Linked DNA regions of Homo sapiens: regions 1 and 3 are each linked to region 2. Evidence: promoter capture Hi-C in 16 types of primary human blood cells and fetal thymus (Javierre and others, 2016). All regions are on one chromosome and are shown on one strand. The core of a region is centred on a gene start or on the middle of the fragment in contact, and the rest is flanking DNA. Distances in the headings are between cores, read along the strand shown.

Region 1 (3,689 bases), core at 830-3,329, 590 kb before region 2:
TGGCTCAGGAGTCTGCCCAATTCAGGAACTGTTCTTTGCTCAATTAAATTCTTTTAAATTTAATTTGGCTGAAGTTTTTCTTTTAACAAGGGAGAGGTGTATATTTCGCTCTTCTTTCCCACTGGCTGGAATGTGGAAGTGATGACTGGAGCTTCAGCAACTACCTTGAACAGTGAGGTGGAAATTATTATTCAGAATAGATGGAAAATACTATTCAGATACAGGGAGCCTGGATCCTTAGAGATTGTAGCATCATGATTGCAGCCTGAACTGCCACTATAAGCCATTTATATCTTTTGGCACTCACTGTCAACTCTAATCTATCTTATATACAACCTCTACCTTAGGCACCTCCACATGTCCCTAATGACCCCTGGAAAGCCACGTCTCACTAAAACATCCTTACCAAGACAGGGAGAGGCAACAACCTTTGCATTGTGAGGAGCAGTGATTTCGGGCACTGAGAAGCTGTGCTGCCTTTAAACAACTCTATACCATCATCAGCTGGTGTGGGAAAGCCCACGCAATCCCATTTCTCCAGCTCAGTGATGTTCAGGTTTCTACTGTGCGTAGTTCTTTGGTCAAACTTTACATGGACATTTCCAAAGGCCTGCAGGACATCTCCACACAGGTTTCTCACCAGCTCCTCCAACTTGACTTATCTAAACCCAAATTTCTTCATTCTCTCTCTCAGAACAGCCCTTAGGCCAGGGAAAGAGGAGCTCCTGCCATAGGCCTGAAGCTTGAGGGAGCATCCCCACCCCAAAGCCCACATCCTCCTTTTGAGACCATATTCCAGGTACCCAAGACCCCAGAATTCCCTGTCCTGATAGCCTCAGGCCCACTTCTAGGGCTGGTCACTCTGAGGACAGGGTGGGCCAGGAGCAGCTCTCTTCAGGGAATGTGGGTGGAGTTTGGCTGTGAAGGCTGGGAAGTGCATACTTGTCCTTGCAAGGCCCCTCACCATGTTGGGCAAATTCAGGTCAGAAAGAAAAGGAAGTTGTGCAGCAGGGTGGGGCCAAAGACTGGGGGCTGGTTCTCACTGTCTCTATGTTCTGGCATAAAACTCTGAGGAGTCCCAGAAATTAAAATTTCCATCTGGACCTCCAGGACACTGTGAAGGTATATTTGTCAAAGTAGGAGAGTAGGACATGTTTTATTTAACAGTTGGTTGGCTTAATGTATAACTTTAAAATATTTAGACATATGGTATGTGGGCCTCTGTTTGTACTTCTACCGAGGGCCAAGGTGTCTATGTGACACTTCCTGGGACAACAGGGCCTGTTTGCCCCATGGAGGGTATCAGGAATGCCAGCTGAGCTTGGGATGGGAGACGACTAGCCGGGTACTCAGAGAGAGACAGTGCTGGAGCACAGGCCAAAAGGAAGTCAGGAAAGAGCTTCTGCTAGAAGTGAAGAGTGGAAAGAGCAAACCAGGTGAGACAACTAGGGTGGAAAGAGAGTGGAGCAGGAGATGCCAGATGCAGAAATTCCAGGCTGGAGGCATGGGATGAAGAAGAGCCTCTGGTCACAGAACCTGAAGCCAGGAATCAGCAAGGCTGGAAATAGGGCAGATACCAGAAGTACAGGATCCTGCTTAAGCCACACCCTTGTTCCCTATTGTTCTGTGTTTGCATCTTGTCAAACTCAATCTGTATGTCTCAACAGCTGTCCAATGCTCACAGGGTCAAGGGGAGGAATAACCGCAGCATTCCATGGTCCCCCTGCTAGTGGGTAGGTGGTAGCGGTGGGATCCAGGCAGCAGTTTTATCATAGGCAGGTAATGACACTATGCATCAAGATCATCTTCTTGATTTAGCATCCTGGGGAAAGGAGACGGGAAGAACTTGGAAGAGTATCAGAGCCTGCCCCAGTCAAAGACACTAAGGATCAGGAAAGGGTTCCAGCCCAGGAAATCAACTGAAGCAGAATATCAGTTGTGTGGGCCTTGCCAAGGTAGCAGGGAGAGGGAAGAAGGCCAAGGATAAATGTCAGATATAGAGCAATGCCAGTTCTAAGTAGAACTATGGCCATAGCAATTTCTCATCATCCGTGTCTATTTTTGCTGGTGTAATGGTTAGATGATTGGATGGTACTCATGCCATGCTGGTTAAAAATATCTTTTAATGTCACCCTTGGTTGCCAGCCCATTCTCTTCTCGGGTCATGGCTTGCTTTTGAAGTTGGACAGAGAGGAGTAGTGGACCTGAAAACTAGAGGCCTCAGGGTTTCCAGTAATAGCTGAGGAATCTGCAGGACCAAGGGAACCTGGCCACTGGACGCCTCCCCTTCCAGACCATGCCTCAGTAGCCAAGACCCCGGAAGTCTCTGCCCAAATGTCCTGAGCCAATTTTCAGGGCTTGCATGAGCCTCTGCACAGGTCTGTCCTTCTGAGTGTGGACAGGCTCCCCCAATGTACTCCTCAATCTGATCGGTGGCCAAAACAACAGACACTTGTGAGGAGTGTGGATGGAGCTTGGACATGGAGACAGGGGTGTCCACACGTGAGATCTTGAGGCCCTCATACTGCGGGATGGAAAAGAAAGGCCCACTATATCCTGGAAAGGGACTCTGAGAAGTCTGAGGAGTTCTAAATTCAAAACTAGCCTTCAAGGTCAGTGTGAAGTGTATTTGTCAAGATATGAGGATATAATATATTTTATTTAAGTGCTCTGTTAGATTCCTTGATCCTTTTAAATATTTAGATATCAGGCATATGGATTTTCATTTGTCCTCCGGCTCCCACAAATATTAGGGGTGTGTATGCAAGAAACACAGGGATCGTTCTGGCAGAGGTGCATCTTGCAGACATAGCAATGGAGATTTCAGTCCTGATCTAATGAGTCAATGCCACGCATGCCAGAAAGGCCTTCCACAGCATGGTCAGAGGCCAGACAGCAGGAGGGTCCAGGCCTCTTCTTAACAGTCAGCACCAAGGACTGGAGGGCTTTGCATTGACAGCATTTCAGACTGGGTTCTCTTCTCTCCAGTAAGCACTGCCACTATGACTTTCCTCCTACAGTACTGTGTATAGGTGAAATAGTATCATTAAAAATATTCAAAAGCAAGGTCTCTGTGGGCCAGTCAGCACCTGATGCTGACATGTGCAAACAAAGGATTTACTTTATGTATTCATCACATCTACCCTGTGAGGGTGGGAAGGGAAGGCTTCATCATTTCCATTAGCAGATGAGAAAACCAAGGCTTAGTGAGGTTAAATAACTCCAAGATCTCCCAGTAAAGAGAAGGAAGGATCTAAACAAGAAGCTAGGCCTTTTAACTCCGAGTTTAGTACCCTTTCCACTCCACATAGTCCCAATTTAACTCAGAAACAGAAATGCTATAAGAAATCTCCAGCATTTCTTTCCTGAAAGAGTTTATGAACTGCGTTTGGTCAAAGGTTAGCATGTCTATTTATGAAGCTTCTTTAGTTCTGGTTGGTTAATGACATTTAATCGCACGTTCCTTGCAGTGGGCCAGGATAATGGAGAGAGATGCACAGGGGTCAACTAACAACATGCAATTTGATAAAATTCCAAGGCTTTTATGGAGCACAACTGATCCATTATATAAGATTTCATAAGCCAAAGGTAAAATTAAAGTGAGAAAAACTGCCTAAAAATGTCAGGTAGGTGTAGTAGACCATGCAGTTACCTTTTTCTCAGGCAGTTTCAGAAACTGATAACTTAGC
Region 2 (4,107 bases), core at 1,460-3,959:
GAGTATTTCAAGTATTTAACAAAGCTTATGGTTTAAGGAAACTTCTTTTCTACTGATATGATGAAACAATTTTCTTCTCCATGCTTCACAGCAAAAGCATTAATTTTGGGTTGTTATTAATCTTCCTTTTTTTCTACTTTGCAGCAAGATGAGAAGATGAAGTGAATTTATGGATTCTGGTTTTTCTGAATTTTCAAAGCATAAGGAATCAAAACAGAAATATAGTATCAAGAAGATGAAATGCTTAATGAAAAGGTTTTTTTTTTGTTTCTTTGGCCTTTCATGGAGTGTTGATTTGTCCATTCTTAATGTTTATTAATAGGTATATGTGCATAAAATAGCTATTTTGTAACATTAAACTTTTTGAGTCATTTTGGTCATCATATAACTTACCTTCCTGTTTATTTAAGCTTCTTTTTACCTAGTAGCCTTTAACCAAACAATAACCTTTTAACCAAATAAAATGTGTTAATAAATACCTTTGCATTGGTTATCTTGTATACTAGGCTGTCTTGTTTTGCTGTCTGTTTTTAACCCATTCAATATATGTGGACATCCAAAAGGGTTTAAAAGCCACCTCCTGCCCTGGCCCGTTTTCTCTCCCTTCATTCTTCTGTTTTCAGAAATACATGTTGAATGTCAGCTTCTGTATTATTTCTATTATATGTAATCTGATGACTTAGAGGAGGAGATTAACCTTTCAGGCTCTTTTGAATTTGGTTTTTATAATTTGGTTTTAAAGATCACTTACTCTTCCAGTAATAAGTAGTAATAAATCCTGTTCATATCTGAGATCAATACACAGTTTATTGAATTCAAATGACTACTCAAACTCTATTCCACCTAGATGGAAAACTTTTTTAGACAATATCTGACCACTAACGCGGTGGGCCCAGAAATCTGCATCTTAATCAGATGCTTCAGGTGAGTCCGTCCGAGGATTGTCCTAGTACCACACTTTGAGAGACTGCAGTGGGGGTACAGAGTGCTGGAGGGGTTTAGTCAATAGCTCTAGTGAAGGATGGATAGTTTTATTCAAAGAATCCCAGTTGATGAATGAAGAAGAAATGCTAGAATTAGAAAAATTGCAAACCCCTATTAAAACTACCGCTCAGGCAATGCTCAACAATGGATGTAAAACAATTAGGTGAAATGTTGATGGAGAAATTCATTACAAAGGAATAGCCCTCTGAACCCACTGATCAATGTTAGCATCATTACGAATGAAACAACCAGACACCATATGCTTCCTGCTGTGCTGCAATATTAATTATATGGTACCACCTATGAAGTGTTCTTGCCCTCTCCCCCCCAAAAAATTGAACCTGAATTTAATCAAAGCTTTAGATCTAATATTTAGTGCATAGGAAATAAGTAGAGTAGAAAAACAATACCAGGGAGAAGCAATTAGCCACATTCAAAAAATGGTTCATTTCAATAGAACAACTGACCTGGTTTCTTTTTCAATGTGTTAATAGTGTTAAAAAGTCTGTTTTAGATCAAAAGAGACTGATGAGACCACATGCAAATACATTGCACAGCTCTTGTTTGATTCAAAGAAGTCAAGTGTAAAAGACATTTTTTAGACACGTGAAATGGTGTTGCGGCTGACTAAAAGGATGTGTATGTGTGTTTTTGAAGTATTTAGGGCTAAAATATGTCCAGGATTGGCTTTTAAATACTACAAAAAATGGAGTATGCCAAAACGTTGACCATTGTTAAAGCTCAGTGAAGGGCAGGTAGATGCCAATTGCACTCTTCACTTTTATGTGCAAAGTTTGGAAAATTTCACAATAAAATTTTTGTGTTTACATAAATGAAATAACATGGGAAAATGTTCTAAGGTATGGCAAGTGAAAAAAGCCTGGAAAATAACTAGTTTGTCCCACTTAAGTTTTTAAAGGTGTTAAAAGTACATGTTTCAAAAAGTAAGGATAGACTAAAAAAGTGAACGGTGGTAAGTTCTAAGTTGTGGGCTTACAGGTGTTCTTTATTTTTATGCTTTGCTGTATTTTCCAAGTTTTTTTTTTTAAGTTTTCCAAGATGTTTTACATCTCTGTTCTTATTTACCAGATAAACTTTGTGGTTAGTTACTGGATAAACTGTAAATAGTGATAAAATTTTTAAGTTTATATCAAGATAGCACTTCATTTTAAAACCAGTAATTATTAGGTTGGTGCAAAATTAATTGCAGTTGTTGCCATTGGAAGTGATGGTAAAAACCGCAATTACTTTTGCACCAACCTTATATTTCTAAAAGATCAAGTTGTAAACCTATTTGTTTTCCCTAAGATCCGCTCTTGCAGAGTTGGAATAAATATGATTGTTTACACTTAAGAGTCCAGGACTACAGCAGGCCTGGTTGGAGGGGAGTTACTAATGTTCCCAGACTTAAATCCAGCTGGAACACCACCTAAAATATGCAGTAACATAAGACCATCAAAAGCAATGTCCCAGGACTTACAATGTTTGCTAAGACGCAAGAGGGTGTGACACAGACGCTAAGCGCCACTGGCGAGGAGATGAAGGGGTCGTCTTCATCTTCGCCGGATGATTTCCGCCCACATAGAGGGCGCCAGTGACGCCCACACACGTGCTGGTGTCCCGGGAAGAGTTCCTGGCAAAGAGCTCAGGAACGTTGGATCTTAATCAAGGCTTTCTCCGTCGGGGTGGATGGGTTGGACTTTAGGCTCCAGCAAGCCCCGCCCCACTCGGCGGGTCGGTGCCGCCGGGTCCCAGGTGCCCGCTACTTCCCAGAACCTCCGCCTCCCGCTCCGGGCCCTCGAACCAGCGCGGACACCACAATGGACCGGGCGTCCGAGCTGCTCTTCTACGTGAACGGCCGCAAGGTGAGCGCCCGCGGGCTTCCTCTGCCCCCAGACCTGCGGCCAGGGCCGGGGCAGAGAGGAGCCCCTGCCGTTCGTCCCATCCTTTCGTGCCCGCCGTTTAAGGCACTCAGGCACGGACTGGCTTTCTCCCGTAACAGCGGCTTTGCCTTCGCATTCCCACCCCTGCCTCCGGGGCAGCTAAAGGCTGCGTTTTCAGGGACTGTCCTGGATCTTTGGGCCCCCACCTTCCTTATGTTCCCCTTTCCTCTCCTTCCAAGGCTCACAAGCTGATTTCCAACCACACGCCCTCCCTAAACAGTAAGATAAAAAGTATTCTTGCCCATCAGGGGTCAGCACTCCCAGATCTTCGTTCCCTCAATCCCAGCCGATAACGGGAACGTCCCCAGTACACTGAGAGCAGCCTACAGAAATGGCTGAGCCTCAGCTCGCGGGGTGCGTTTGGAAGCGCAGAGAGCAACTTAGATTCGGGACAAGACCGTAGAGACGAACACATTCAAACCACCCCCATCGTTTCTCAGATGAAGAAATCGTTACTTTCCAAAGTCACAGCTAGTTCCTGGCAGAGCTGAACCCAAGTCAGGCTCTGGGGGCTCCAAGGTCCTCACGGGTTCCACTGCTGGGTGCGGGCTCTGTCGCCTCAGAAGCTGGGCTCGCTCTGCGCAACCCGAGGGACAGTTCCAGGCAGTGTCCGATGTTTGGGAGAAGCAAAGCCCCCTGGGCATCCTTTAAAACACCCCCCTTAATGTGAGCATCAACTCTGCTCACTCTTAATGTTCCAGTTTCATTGACATTACTCTGAAGGAGGAAACTGAGGCAGGAAGGTTAAGGAGCTCCCTTGAGAGCTGTGGCTCACGCCTGTAATCTGCACTTTGGGAGACCGAGGCAGGAGGATTGCTTGAGCCCAGGAGTTCGAGTTTAGCCTGGGCAACATGGCGAAACCTTGTCTCTACAAAAAAAAAACCAAACAAAACAAAACAACAACAACAAAAAAAAACCGGTGTGGTGGTGCGTGCCTGCAGCCCAGCTACTGGGGAGGGTGAAGGAGGATTGCTTGAGTCTAGGAGTTCAAGGTTACAGTGAGCTGTGATCACACCACTGCACTCCAGCTTGGACAAAAGAGTGAGATCCTATTTCTTAAAAACAACAAAAACAGAGCTAACAACCAAGCAAGAGCAGTGGCACCTGATTTCCCTGGTGCTCGTGTTGGTGCCGGTTCATTCAGAGCCACCTGTGACCACTGCTTCTGGCTAAGGGCAGC
Region 3 (4,006 bases), core at 190-2,689, 570 kb before region 2:
TCCAAAATTCTGGCAGGGAAATTTAAGTTGTTACCATCTTTAGAAGACTTGAAAATTAACATAGTGGTTGAGCAGTTTCATATGCATAGTTGCCAGAAGAAATCCACTTAAGCTCGGCTAATTACAGAGAAGTTTATTGTAAGGATACAGCATCTCAAGGTGTCCAGTTTTAGCAAGAACTAAAAAATTTTATAGAACCAGAAGGTTATCAGTAAAATTCTTTTACTCTCACTTTCCTCTTCTTCCTGTCCCTCTGGCCCCTGGTTCCTTGTCTCTGCTGCACCTGTTTCATTCTTTTGTCTTTGGAAAAATTCCCATTACCAGTGCTCCTAAAAGAGCAGCACCCACCTCTGATTACAAATGGTGTTTCTAGTCTGCACATCCAAAACCAGGAGAGAGAATGTGATGGGCTCAGCTTCAGTGTGATGGGCTCACACTCTCAGATAGGCAAGGACACAGTGTTCTAGTGCTCTTTCCAGGCAGTGCCAGGTATGCTCTCTAAGAAGGGGTATGGGCATCAAGGAAATGATAGTTGGGTAAAGGACAATCATCTCCAATACAAAATTTTGACAAGCTTGTAATTATTTAATTTATTGACTGCTATTGCCAAATATCAATAGCTATTGACAATGTTATTTTAATACACATTTTGATTATGATTTCCTCTAACTTATTTATTTTATAGGTATTATGGAAAATATATAAATAAATCATATCCTTCAATAATAATTATGTCTATCTTAATAGGTATCTTCAGTACCTCACAATGGTATTTGGTAAAGCCAGAGAAATAATTAACTATGTTTATATTCAGTCTTTTGTTGCCAGTGATAATGTTTGAGGCTTTGATAAAACTCTTGAGTTTAACGATTAATAGTATAATTTCTCTCAAAGTTTACCCATTGAAAATTATAATTCTTGATGAAACTAGTTGAGAAATGATAAGCTTCATCTTTATATGTTCCCTTTCTGGTATGTGACATTAAAGTCATTTACTTAAAGATTATGGTTGATTTTTTTTTAAAAAAATCAAAATCCTCACATTTTCAAAGTTAGAAAGCAGCTAAAGATGTTACTTCAATTCCTAAAAGCAAGGCCTTATTAATTCTCTTTTAGTGCTAAAGGATTACCATAAAATTATCATAAATTCTTCTTAATTTCTCTCTCTCTCTTACACACACACACACATGCACATAGAATCATAGAAATCACAGGAATTTTACAGTTGGCCTCCTGAGACAAAACATATAGTATATAAGAATTCTCAGTTATCTGGCTCTGAATTACTCATTTGTAATTATCTGTGGCAAATGGTTAATCTCAGGCTGATGCACCATTGCCAACCAGCCCACCTGGGCCATTCTTCCCATTATGAATTAGTGTGTGGTCAGGGATAGCAAATTACTTTAGCAATAACCAGGGAATACAGATTTAGAAAGACCTAGCTGCAAGAAAAAGTAATTGAATGTACTTCCAAACTAAACAGCCATATGTTTTTGGATGATCTACCATTGGGATTATTTCCATTTTGGCTCCCCTTCATTGATGCAGGTGATTGGGAGAGTGCATTACTAACAACAGTTCCTAAAACGAGGAAAATCTGTTCTCCGCCGGCCTGCTCCTGTGCATAGCCTAAGCAGAGTCAAGAATGACATTTCCTTAAAAATGTAGGTATCAAAAATTTCCTTAAAATTATAAAACTGATTTCATATCTGAAAAAGACAGATTCTCCCATAGGAGGCTATGTCCTTGTAGCTAATAGGACCCTTCCAAAATTTCCATATCCAAACTCTCCGTATAGGGTAGAGGGGGATACAGTGCAAAGAGAGAAAGGGGAGGAAAAGCAGATATGCCTGGACTGCCTCTGTAATTGAACATCTTCTGGCTATTCTTAGATCTTTGGTGAAAGAATTCACTTTGATCAAGTTCTTCAAAGCTTTCAATTACCTACAGGATAAGGATTGTAGATACCAATTTATGATCATGATTTAGAGACTTTAAGTATTTAAATATAATACTATAGAATGAATGAGAATAATTAATATTAATATTACATATTTAAAGCACCTCAATTTTCAGAAGACTTTCATATTATTGAACTCAACTTCCAAATACTTCTTTCTGATAGACTAAGAGCATAAGGGTAATGTGGAAATGTACTACTGATTTACTAATAGTGAATATGCACTTCTGCCTGTGTTGCCAATACTCCATTTCTTCTCCAGCCAGTTTTGCATGCTGCTGCCTGATTTATCTTTCTTTTCTTTTCTTTTTTTTTTTTTTTTTTTTTGAGATGAAGTCTCACTTTGTGAAGTGAGTCTCACGTCTCACTTTGAGATGAAGTCTCACTTTGTTGCCCAGGCTGGAGTGCAGTGGCATGATCTCAGCTCACTGCAACTTCTGCCTCCAGGGTCCAAGCAATTCTCTGCCTCAGCCTTCCTAGTAGCTGGGATTGCAGGCACCCACCCCGCCGCCAGGCTAATTTTTGTATTTTTAGTAGAGACCGGGTTTCACCATCTTGGTTAGACTGGTCTTGAACTCCTGACCTCGTGATCCACCCGCCTCAGCCTCCCAAAGTGCTGGGATTACAGGCGTGAGCCACTGTGCCCAGCCCTGATTTACCTTTCTAAAGGACACCTGTAATCACATCTCTCCCTTGATCCTCATCACCTTTCCTGGAAGTAAAAGCTAGACCTGCTCCACCTTTCTAATCTTATTTCTTCCTTAGCCTCCTCCACAGACCCTCAGTGTTAGTCAAAGTGGCCTCACTAGTGGCTTCGCTGACCAGGTAGGGTAATTTCTTTTTGCCAAAAATGTCTCCTTCCCTTTGCAACTCCATGAATCAATTCAAATCCTGACATTTCTAATAGTTTTGAATAAACATGTTTGATATTATCCTAAGGCTCATAGGTTAGTGCTCTTAAAGCTTTTTACAAATTTACAGATTTATTATTATATTTTGTATTTTAAAAATTAAAATATTATATTTAAATTTTTATATTTTAAAAATATGAAATATAATGACATATAGTGACATATATTTACATACATGTAATTTTTAAAAATTCCATTTAATCCTGTTTGATTTGAATTTTAGTTTGTTCAATAGTAATACTGCCATCCCTGCTACTTTGTTTTATTTTGGTGTAATTTTCCTGGCTTTTTGTTTTAACAAACTTTAGTCATTTTGTTTAAAGACATTATTTCTCTTGCTTTCTCTCTTGTCTTGTTTTAACACAACTTAAGACATCAGAATCTGGTTTTCTTAATTGAGGAATTTAACCTATTCACATTTATTGAGGTAATTGTATGTTTGATTAAATCAGCTAATATTTGTAAAGCGCTCTGAACAGTCCCTAGGACTTGAAAGTGCTGTATTTGTTATATCAATCAATCTTATTTTTGCTTTCTCATTTTGTGTTTTCTCTTTGTAAGGCTTTTTTGTCTTGGTTTGGTTTTGCTTGTTTTCTATTTTGTGTTGTTTTGGGTAGCTGTTCTTCTCTTTTGATGATAAGGTTTTCTTTTTTCACCTGGTATTTGAAAGTTACAAATCTTATTTTTACTGTTCCAGTAGTTATTGTTAGGTTTTTAATAAATATATTTAAACTCACATTTTTCTCAGAATTGATATTTATTCTGTATTTAAAATCTCACTCCCCCCCAGAATAAGGGAAAATCCTCTCACTTACTTTCTCTTTCTCTTTTCCTAGTTTCATTGAAATTGCTTTGAATTTTAAGTTCTAATTATTATGAAATATTTTATGGCATGCTTATCTTTTTAAAAAATTATAGAGTCATATAGCCATATTATCAATAATTATTTAATTTTAATTAAAATTCCTATTAGTATCTATTTTTTCCTCGAATTACACTTCTTTTTTTAAAACCAATTTCTCAGTTTACTATAGCTTTCAATAATTCATTTAGAAAGAATTCATAAGTTGTAAACTGAGATCTTATGTGTTCAAAAATTGCCTTTCCCCACACACGTGAATACTAGTTTTGC

Evidence for each region. The method cuts DNA at HindIII sites, captures the fragments that hold promoters and counts their contacts. A CHiCAGO score of 5 or more calls a contact.
Region 1: a fragment that was not itself captured here is called in contact with the fragment with the promoter of AOX1 in region 2 in 2 of 17 cell types (megakaryocytes and endothelial precursors); the score reaches 8.0 in megakaryocytes.
Region 3: a contact is called between a fragment that was not itself captured here and the fragment with the promoter of AOX1 in region 2, in 1 of 17 cell types (endothelial precursors). The highest score is 5.3, in endothelial precursors.

Annotation. Positions count from the first base shown.
Region 1 is chr2:199,995,469-199,999,157 of GRCh38, forward strand. All of the region lies in intron 2 of LOC124906112 (a long non-coding RNA gene), which reads right to left. Among named protein-coding and RNA genes, the nearest start is that of MAIP1, 42 kb to the left of the region's middle. The HindIII fragment of the contact is 2,678 bases long and covers 741-3,418 here.
Region 2 is chr2:200,583,305-200,587,411 of GRCh38, forward strand. It overlaps AOX1 (aldehyde oxidase 1), which reads left to right and starts at 2,710. Exons shown (of 35, transcript NM_001159.4): 1 at 2,710-2,849. The coding sequence starts at 2,805. SGO2 (shugoshin 2) reads left to right here. Exons shown (of 9, transcript NM_152524.6): 9 at 145-792. The coding sequence ends at 160. The HindIII fragment of the contact is 4,080 bases long and covers 1,340-4,107 here.
Region 3 is chr2:200,012,577-200,016,582 of GRCh38, forward strand. All of the region lies in intron 1 of LOC124906112 (a long non-coding RNA gene), which reads right to left. Among named protein-coding and RNA genes, the nearest start is that of MAIP1, 59 kb to the left of the region's middle. The HindIII fragment of the contact is 990 bases long and covers 945-1,934 here.